Regions from separate parts of the Homo sapiens genome. Here region 2 is linked to region 1. Evidence: promoter capture Hi-C in human tissues and cell types (Jung and others, 2019). All regions are on one chromosome and are shown on one strand. The core of a region is centred on a gene start or on the middle of the fragment in contact, and the rest is flanking DNA. Distances in the headings are between cores, read along the strand shown.

Region 1 (4,913 bases), core at 1,521-4,020:
ATGAAACTTAACAGTGACTGAAGAGTAGACTTAGAAAGTGGGAGATTCAGAAGGTGGTAATGGTGATGTTACCAAGTAGTGAGGTCAGCCTGTCAAAAGTGGTGATGATTACTTTTTTTTTTATTTCGTTTAATTTTATTTTACTTTTTTGAGATGGAGTCTGTCTCTGTCGCCCTGGAGTGCAATGGTGCGATTTCAGCTCACTGCAACCTCCGCCTCCCGGGTTCAAGCGATTCTCCTCCCTCAGCCTCCTGAGTAGCTGGGATTGCAGGCACGCGCTACCATACCCAGCTAATTTTTGTATTTTTAGTAGAGACGGGGTTTTACCATGTTGGTCAGTCTGGTCTCAAACTCCTGACCTCGCGGTCTGCCCACCTTGGCCTCCCAAAGTGCTGGGATTACAGGCGTGAGCCACTGCATCCGGCGTTATATTACTCTTTTGAGACAGAGTCTCGCTCCATCTCCCGGGTTGGAATGCAGTGGCATGAAGTAATCTTGGTTCACTGCAACATCCGCCTCCCAGGTTCAAGTGATTCTTGTGCCTCAGCCTCTCCAATAGCTGGGATTATAGGCGCAGGCCACCATGCCTGGCTAATTTTGTATTTTTAGTAGAGATGGGGTTTCACCATGTTGGCCAGGCTGCTCTCAAACTCCTGACCTCAAGTGATCCACCCGCCTTGACCTCCCAAAGTGCCGGGATTACAGATGTGAGCCACCGCGTTTGCCCAGGTGATGATTACAAAGGAAAAGAAGCCAGAAAGGCAGGAAGTGATGTAAGCTCTAACAAGTGGTGTCAGAACAGCAAAGTCCTTGGGTGAGATGGGATGTCATGTCAGAGAAAAGCAGAAAATCTTGAGTCAAATAGTGACATCAGAGCCACACAGTGTAGTTCAAACAAGAAGTGATGTTACCACAAACAGGAAGTGATATTACGTGAAACAGGAAGTGATGCTATGTCAAACAGGAAGTAAGAGGCAAGGGCCAACCTTGGTGAGGTAGTAGACAGACTGCTGGAAGGTACACATGATGACCTCATCCAGGAGGGCCATGGCCTCATCACATAATTCCAAGTCATTGCAGAGCTGTGGGTCTGAGGACAGGCTTGGGGTTAAGAGGGAGAACCAGAAGTCGGCAGCCAGGAGCCCAGGTCCCCAGGTGCAGGGCATGATGGGAGACTTGGACAAGCCTGAGCCTGAGTCAGAGCTCACCCTCTTGGTCAGCCTCCTTCTCCATTTCCAGCACCTTCTCCTGCACAAAGCTAAGCAGCTCCGTGGTGTTGGCCATCCACAGCATGAGTGGCCGCAGCTCCACAGACACAGCTTCAGGAGTCAGGGGCACCTCGGGGACCCCCTCAGGGTGGCTTGAAAAAGAGGAAGGAATTTGTGATCCCTGCCCAACCCTCATCATAGTTTACAAACCCCAAGATCTAAGTCTAAGTGGGAGAGCAAGACCAACTCCCATTGCGCAGCTGGAAAAGTTGAGCGCAAGGAGAAGCAGAAACTTGCACTGGGGCATGCATGGGGTGAACACAGAACTAGACGCAAAACCCAACCCCTGCATCCCTCCAGACCACTCTGCTCAGAATTTCTCTTACTTTTCTGGCTGACGGTCTCCAATTTCCTTAATCTTTTCCTGTGGAACAGTAAGATCAGAATCAAGGTGAGGGGGATCCACTGAGGGGCTTAAGAGTTAATACCCTGGTTTTTATAGAAGCACAACTCTCATAGAGACTGGTCCTACTTTTCTTAGAGATGGGGTCTTACTATGTTGCCACCGGTGGTCTCCAACTCCTGAGCTCAAATGATCCTCCCACCTTGGCCTCCCAAAGAACTAGGATTACAGGCATGAGCCACTGCAACCGGCCTTCACTCTTCATACGGATTCTTTTTTTTTTTTTTTTTTTTTGAGATGGAGTTACCCTGTTGTTGCCCAGGCTGGGGTGCAATGGCTCAATTTTGGCTCACTGCAACCTCTGCCTCCCAGGTTCAAGTGATTCTCCTGCCTCAGCCTCCCAAGTAGCTGGGATTACAGGCATGTGCTACCATGCCCGGCTAATTTTTTGCATTTTTAGTAGAGACGGGGTTTCACCATGTTAGCCAGGATGGTCTCGATCTCCCGACTTCAGGTGATCTGCCCGCCTCGGCCTCCCAAAGTGCCGGGATTACAGGCATGAGCCACCACGCCTGGCTCTTGAGACAAATTCTAATCCCACAAGCTTTAGAATGGTCTCTCCTTACTTTTTAAAACATACACACCCTATGATTATGAGTGATCTAGCTCCTTCAGGTCCTCTTCTCCAATTTTTACCCCCAAGAAACTCCTTAAACCTCTCTGGTTAGGCCCTAGCTCAATAGGATGGAACGTTTCCCCCACTCTGAATGGTTTCTTTCTGGAACTTCCATCTGTAGGTCCAGTGGATTTGTGCTTCCTCGCCTCCAAGAATGAACTCGCTCACTGCTATCCAAGCTCCAAGCCCAATGGGCTGCGGTGAATTCTCACACTGATCTCTGTCAACTTCTCATCCAGTGGGATCTCTCCCCCACCATCTCCCATAATGGTTTCTTCCTAAGGTGAGTTCGTGCTTAGGTGAGCTCTCCTAAGGTGAGTTTGGGCTTCCCTCTAAGTGCAGTGGATCTACATCTCCCAGCATTCTATGGGGGGGCCCCTTGCTTAATAACCCCAAAACACCGGGTGTGGTGGCTCACACCTGTAATCCCAGCACTTTGGGAGGCCGAGGCGGGCGAACCACGAGGTCAGGAGTTCCAGACAAGCCTGGCCAATATGGTGAAACCCCGTCTTACTAAAAATACAAAAAATTAGCCGGGCGTGCTGGCAGGCGCCTGCAATCCCAGCTACTCGGGAGGCTGAGGCAGAAGAATCATTTGAACCCCGGAGGTAGAGGTTGCAGTGAACCAAGACCGCCACTGCACTCCAGCCTGGGTAACAGAGCGAGACTCCGTCTCAAAAACAAAAGCAAACAAACAAACAAACAAAACCCAAAACCCCAAATCCTTCCCGAGGCGTCATGGGAACAGTAGTATCCAGCCCAGCTATGAAAAGGGTTGAAGGTAGGGAAGGGAGGCTGGAGAAGGGACTTGGGGCGCTGGTGGGGCTGGACGGCGATTGGGGGGCGCTCACCCAGACGGCCTCCTTGATGAGCCGGGCCAGGCGGCCCAGCAGTCGTGGCAGGTGGCCCAGCTCCAGCTCACGGGCGGAATGCTGCACGCACAGCGCCAGCAGCGTGGCGGGCCCGAGGGGCGGCAGGTCTCCCGAGCCGGCGGCTGCGGCGCGCACGATCTCGCCCAGCAGCGCCTCCTCCTCGCGCGGCCGGAAGCGCAGGACTGGCTCACGGCCGTCCAGGTAGGCGGCCAGTGCCTCGCCGCGCTCCTGCAGGCCGCGGCCGCACAGGCGACAGGAGAAGGCCCAGCCAGGGCCTGGCGGCGTGGCCCCGGGGCGCGCGGGCAGCCACGGCGGCCTCGCAGGCCCCGAGCCCCCAGTGCGGGGGTCCTTGTACATGAACAGGAAGTGCTCGCCCAGCCCCAGGAGGTCGCCCGGGTGCAGCTCAGCCTCCCGCAGCAGGAGGCACCCGTTGTGCGTGACTGGGGCGCCCCGGGACGGGCGCACCATGGCCGGGTGCTCAGGGCCCGCGCGCACTGTGCAGTGACGCGGCAGGATGTCCGGGGCGTTGAGGAAGGTGTCCACATAGGGAGCCGGGGACCCCCCGCGGCCAGACGAGTTCCCACCTCGCCCAAACACGTGCTGCTCTCGCGTCATCACATACACCACAAAGTCCTGGAGGGGAAACGAGGATGCACTAAGGACATCACTTCAATCCATATCTTCAGATCTGTTCTCTCTGTTTTCTACAACAACTTTTCTATTCCCACCAACTTTTTTTTTCCTTCTTCTTCTTTTTTTTTTTTTTTTTTTTTTTGAGATGGAGTCTCGCTCTGTCCTCCAGGCTGGAGTCCAGTGGCACGATCTCGGCTCACTGCAACCTCTGCCTCCTGAGTTCAAGCAATTCTCCTGCCTCAGTCTGTTGAGTAGCTGGGAGTACAGGCGCCTGCCACCACACCCGGCTAATTTTTGTATTTTTAGTAGGGAAAGGGTTTCACCATGTTGGCCAGGCTGGTCTTAAACTCCTGATCTCAGGTGATCCACCTACCTCGGCCTCCCGAAGTGCTGGGATTACAGGCGTGAACTATCGCGCCCGGCCCCCCACCGACTTTGAATAGACACTCCAAGGAGATCTGGATCTCAAAGGACTCTCTAAGCACCCGCAACGCCACTGAGTGGACTCTTCCCAGGCACTTTGTATGGTGGATGGTCCCATAACACCCATCCCGAAGACCGGCTATGTACAAGGAGACCCCCCTTTTTTTCTTTGAGACAGAGTCACGCTCTGTTGCCAGGCTGGAGTGCAGTGGCACGATCTCGGCTCACTCCAACCTCCGCCTCCCGGGTTCAAGCGATTCCCCTGCCTCAACCTCCCGAGTAGTTGAGACTACAGGCGCGCACCATCACGCCCAGCTAATTTTTGTATTTTTAGTAGGGACAGGGTCACCATGTTGGCCAGGATGGTCTCGATCTCTTGACCTTGTGATCCGCCTGCCTTGGCCTCCTAAAGTGCTGGGATTACAGGTGTGAGCCACCACACCCAGCCAGAGACCCATTTCTTAACATGGGCTCTACCATTTCTTTCCCTCAAGCATTAGATGCTTTCAAGGAGATCCCTATTTCTAAAATGAACTGTGCAACTACCCTCACCCTCAAAGAATGGACCTTTCCAAGGAAATCTCCTTTTCCCCATCCCTGGTCCCACCTGTCCATTATTTCACCCCCACCCCACCATGGTAAAGGCTTCCAGATATATTTCCCCTTCCAATAATAGTTTTTCTCAATATTCCTCAAGC
Region 2 (4,913 bases), core at 619-3,118, 82 kb before region 1:
GTCCCCTCCTCCCCCAAGGCTGCTCTCCTACCTCAGCACCCCATTCCCCAGCCTCTATTCATGCCCATCCCCAGTGGGTTCAATAGCTCCTCCCTCCAAGCCCCTTACCTTCTCTCCTCCAGTGCTGAGCCTTAATGGGGGCAGAAAGGGGTCATAAAGAACCCTCTTCAGCTCCACATCCACGGGGCTCTGCCGCTTCCCCACAGCACACAGACTCCACGCTGCATTCACCAGGCCCCAGAAAGGAGGCCCTGGGGGTGGGGTCGGAGTAGGAGGACAAGGAGTCAGAAATAGAGACTGGATCCCAGGGCTGGTATCTGCTGAGTGGGCTGTGGTCTGGACTCCCAGATCCCAGGGGAGGAGGGGCTAGGGACCTAGACTCCTGGGTCTGAGGGAGGACTGGGCTCAGATCCAGAATTCTGGGTCCTAGAAGAATCTTGGAATAGTTTCCAAGTTTAGCAGAGACGGGTTTCACCAAGTTGGCCAGGCTGGTCTTGAACTCCTGACCACAGGTAATCCACCCACCTCGGCCTCCTAAAGTGCTGGGATTTCAAGCGTGAGCCACCGCGCCCAGCCGATCAAACCCATCTTAAGCCACTGTAGATGGAACTACAACTCCCAGCAGGCCCCAGTGCTACCAGCCTACCCCTCTGCTGCCTACCTGCCCCAGAGCCCCGTGGGAGTTGTAGTTCTTTTTTTTAATCGCTCTTATCCCACAGCTGGATTATTATTAATGTGTTGGGGAGAGGAGCTGCAAGAGAAGGCTGGACAAGGTGGGGGACGGGGCCACCCAGCCTCTGGTTCCTAGCAGGAGCCAGGACCTTCCTCTCCCGGCAAACACACACATAATCTCCACCCCCACACTTTCCTTCCACTCACTCCCACTCACTACTTGAAATGCGCATGTATAATGTCCCATGGTGAGCCCCTGGGGTTCAGAAGCTGGCCCGACTCCTGAGGGACAGAGGAGGGGGCTGGGACTCCTGGTCCTGGGGGGGAGGAGGGAGCTGGGAACCCAGGTTCCTGAGTCTGAAGAAGGAGGCGCCGGGAGGGCCGGACTCCTGGGTCCCCGCCTTGGCGGCACCTGGCACGAAGTTTCCCTGGAGATTATCCTTGTAGCTCCACCAGTCCTCGGGGTCAGGTGCTGGTCCGATGTGAGCTGGGAAGAGAGCAGCCTGAATCCCTCTCCTTGGCATCCCCACCTCCACCCTCCCTCGGGGGCTCCTCCCGGGAACCCCAGGTCTTACCTGCTGCCCCCAGTGCAGCCCAGAGTACCAGCGCTCGAGGGGCGCTCAGACGAGCTGCAGCCCCCATCCCCAGGAGGCCTCCGAGGGACCCCTGCCCAACGCCCTGCCCCCCTCTCTCAGCTCCTCTGTCCCCTCCTTCTGGGACCCTGTCCCTCCAGGACTTCCAGCTTTCCTCTCCTCCCCACAGGGAGTCCCAGTTCCCCAAATGCCAAAGCAGCCAGGGACTGAGATCCGCCCTTCAAACCCACTCTTCTTCTCTCTCCCGTCTCTCTGTGTCTTTCCTCTTTCCTCTGCTCTTTTCCCGGAACCCTCCAGTCTCCCTCTAGCTCCTGATCTTCCTACTCCTCTCAGCCTTCTGCTGCCCCCAGGGCTACCTCTTGGTTCCTAACCCACACCTCCTCTCCGTTCTCTTTTCATTAAGCTCTCCCAAGCCACCTAACTCCAGGTCTCCATCCCGCATCTCCTCCTCCTCCTCCCTCTCTCCTTTCCAGCTCCTGCCTCTTCTCCCCTCTCTCCTTCTTCACCTCCTCCCGCCCTCCCTCAGTGTCGGCCTCCAGCTTCGTGCTCTCCCCACCTCCTCCTCTCCTGCCTCTTCTCCCTGTTTCAGTCTCTCTTCTCTCTTGTCCCTTCCTCCCTCCTCCCCCTCCCTCTCTCCTCTCCCGTGGTGTTATTTAATTTTGTTGTTGGGCTGGGGGAGCAGGTGATCTCATAGCGGCAAACACTCCTCGGGTTGGCTTGGGGTGGGATGTGCGAAAGGGCAGGATTCGGAAGGAGGTAGGGGGCTGGTCCTCGGCTCCCAGCCGCGCTGGGGCCACGCGGGCGGGGGTGGCCGGGACACCTGGGGCCGGGAGCAGGCTGTTTCCATCCTCCGCAGCAAGGGGAAGGGGGGGCGCTTAAGGTGGAGCTGGGAGTGGCTTCGGAAGTCTCCATGCTGGGGGCCGCCGGCCTTGGCGGATGCAGGGTCCCCCTGCTCGCTGGGACCCAGGTTGGAGCCGCCCCAGCGCCCGCAGCCCCCCTTCCCCGCCCCAGGGCTCCACTGGGTCTCTGCCTGGGGCTGCCTTAACGGGGCCGGGGGATCCCCTAGGAGCCTGAAGTGCAGTGAGGGCTGCTCGCCTGGAGGGGGAGGCAGAGACCTGGCGAGGGAGAGAGGGGCGGGGAGGAGGAGCCGGGAGGGCAGAGGCGGAGAGCGGGAGGTGAGGACCCACATCTGCGTAGGCTGGGGAGGGGAAGGGAGCCTGAGATGGATACGGAGAGGAAGGGCGGAGGGACAGAAGGTTAGAGAGGCAAGAACAAACCGCCAGGCAGGAGTGAGGAGGAGGGGGAGGAGGTGAAGGAGGAGGGGGAGGAGGGAGAGGAGGGGGAGGGAGAGGAGGGGGAGGAGGGAGAGGAGGAGGGGGAGGGAGAGAGGAAGGAATGAATGAGAGAGATACAGATAGAGGCAGAAAAGGAGATACAGAGACGCAGCGAGACAGACATGGAGACATAGAGACACACACTTAGAGATAGACAGAAACTCAGAGACCAAGCAGCAGATGGGGTGGGGAGAGACAAAAAGAGAGAAAGAGCGATCCAAAGACAGAGAGAGACACCACATTTTTGTATTTGGGGAGAAGAGATGGGGTCATGCTATGTTGCTCAGGCTAGTCTCAAACTCCTGTCCTCAAGGGATCCTCCCACCTTGGCCTCCCAAAGCATTGAGATTACAGGCATGAACAACCATACCCAGCCTCAGAGAGACCACATATTACTGTTGTTGTTGTTATTTATTATTTTTCACCCCGTCTAATGGTAGTGAAACTGCTCATTGTCTTCTTTTATTTTCTTTTTTGAGACAAGCCTTGCAATGTCACCCAGGCTGGAGAGCAGTGGTGCGATCATGGCTTGATCCAGCCTCGACCTCCTGGGCTTAAACACTCCTTCCACCTCAGCCTCCCAAATAGTTGGGACTACAGGCACATGCCACCATGCCAGGCTAATTTTTAAAAATTATTTTTTGTAGAGATGTAGTCTTGCTATGATGCCCAGGCTGGTCCGGAACCCCTGGGCTCAAGGGATCCTCCTGCCTTGGCCTCCCAAAGTGCTGGGATTACAGGTGTGAGCCACCTTGTCCAGCCTGACACCAAACATTAACGAGACAGAGAGACATAGAAAGAGACACACATACATCAGTACAGGTGGAGAGAGACACAGAGAGGGAGAGACATAGAAACACACACACAGACTGAGCATGGTGGCTCACACCTGTAATCCCAGAACTCTGGGAGGTCAAGGTGGATGGATCACTTGAGGCCAGGAGACTGAGACCAGCCCGGCCAACATGGCCAAATGCCATCTCTACTAAATACATAAAAACTTAGCCAGGCATGGTGGCTCACGCCTGTAATCCCAGCACTTAGGGTGGTCGAGGTGGGTGGATCACCTGAGGTCAGGAGTTCAAGACCAGCCTGACCAAAATGGTGCAACCCCGTTTCTACTAAAAAATACAAAAACTAGCTGAGCGTGGTGGCACACACCTATAATCCCGGCTACTCAGGAGGCTGAGACAGGAGAATCGCTTGAACCGGGTAGGTGGAGGCTACAGTGAGCCGAGATCCCAACAGTGCACTCCAGCCTGGGCAACAGAGTGAGACTCCATCTCAAAAAAAAAAAAAAAAAGAAAGAAAGAAAGAAACACACACACAGAGCTAGAGACAGAGACCTGGGAACAGGCACACACACATCTATAAATAGAGACACTCGTGCAGAGAAAGAGACATCAACAGAGAGGAACAGATGGACAGAGATAGAGAGACCCAGATAGAGGGAGAGAGGACCAGAAGCAGACCAACTGACATGATGGGAGAGACTACAAAGGAATCAGAAAGACAGAGGTATTCAGAGATAGCAAATTGGGATGGACATTCAAAGACCTAGAGATGGAGAGAGACACCCAGAAAGAAACCCAGAGAGTCAGGGGTGGAGAGAGACACGAAGAAAAAACACAAGAAGGAAAGGTACATACTAATAATTTATTGCTGGCGGGGCTTGGTGGTTCATGCCTGTAATCCCAGCACTTTGGGAGGCTGAGGAGGGAGGATCACTTGAGATCAAGAGTTTGAGACCAGCCTGGGCAACATAGTAAGACCTCGTCTCTATTTTTTATGAAAAAGAAAAAAACAGGCCGGGCACAGTGGCTCACACCTGTAATCCTAGCACTTTGGGAAGCTGAAGCGGGCGGATCACGAGGTCAGGAGATTGAGACCACGGTGAAACCCCATCTCTACTAAAAATACAAAAAATTAGCCGGGCGCGGTGGCGGGCGCCTGTAGTCCCAGCTCCTCGGGAGGCTGAGGCAGGAGAATGGCGTGAACCCGGGAGGTGGAGCTTGCAGTGAGCTGAGATCACGCCACTGCACTCCAGCCTGGGCGACAGAGCGAGACTCCGTCTCAAAAAAAAAAAAAAAAAAGAAAAAAGAAAAAGAAAAAAATAGTTGGGGAACGGCAGCTCACGCCTGTAATTCCAGCACTTTGGGAGGCCGAGGAAGGCAGATCACTTGAGGTCAGGAGTTTGAGACCAGCCTGACCAACGTGGTGAAACCCCGTCTTTACCAAAAATACAAAAATTAGGCTGGGCGCAGTGGCTCACGCCTGTAATCCCAGCACTTTGGGAGGCCAAGGCGGGCGGATC

The links. Contacts are between HindIII fragments. The study calls those that stand out against the background at their distance.
Region 2: the fragment with the promoter of CA11 here is called in contact with a fragment that was not itself captured in region 1 in 3 of the 25 tissues and cell types used here (IMR-90 fibroblasts, dorsolateral prefrontal cortex and lymphoblastoid cells).

The regions. Positions count from the first base shown.
Region 1 is chr19:48,725,799-48,730,711 of GRCh38, forward strand. RASIP1 (Ras interacting protein 1) reads right to left here. Exons shown (of 12, transcript NM_017805.3): 5 at 3,139-3,792; 6 at 1,595-1,632; 7 at 1,209-1,360; 8 at 987-1,090. LOC124904737 (a long non-coding RNA gene) reads left to right here and starts at 2,346. Exons shown (of 2, transcript XR_007067286.1): 1 at 2,346-2,570. The HindIII fragment of the contact is 9,581 bases long and covers 1-4,913 here.
Region 2 is chr19:48,644,319-48,649,231 of GRCh38, forward strand. It overlaps CA11 (carbonic anhydrase 11), which reads right to left and starts at 1,869. Exons shown (of 9, transcript NM_001217.5): 1 at 1,248-1,869; 2 at 1,085-1,159; 3 at 109-251. The coding sequence starts at 1,314. It also overlaps the pseudogene SEC1P. RefSeq lists enhancers at 1-498, 499-1,199, 1,200-1,900 and silencers at 1,858-2,047, 2,078-2,487. The HindIII fragment of the contact is 19,792 bases long and covers 1-4,913 here.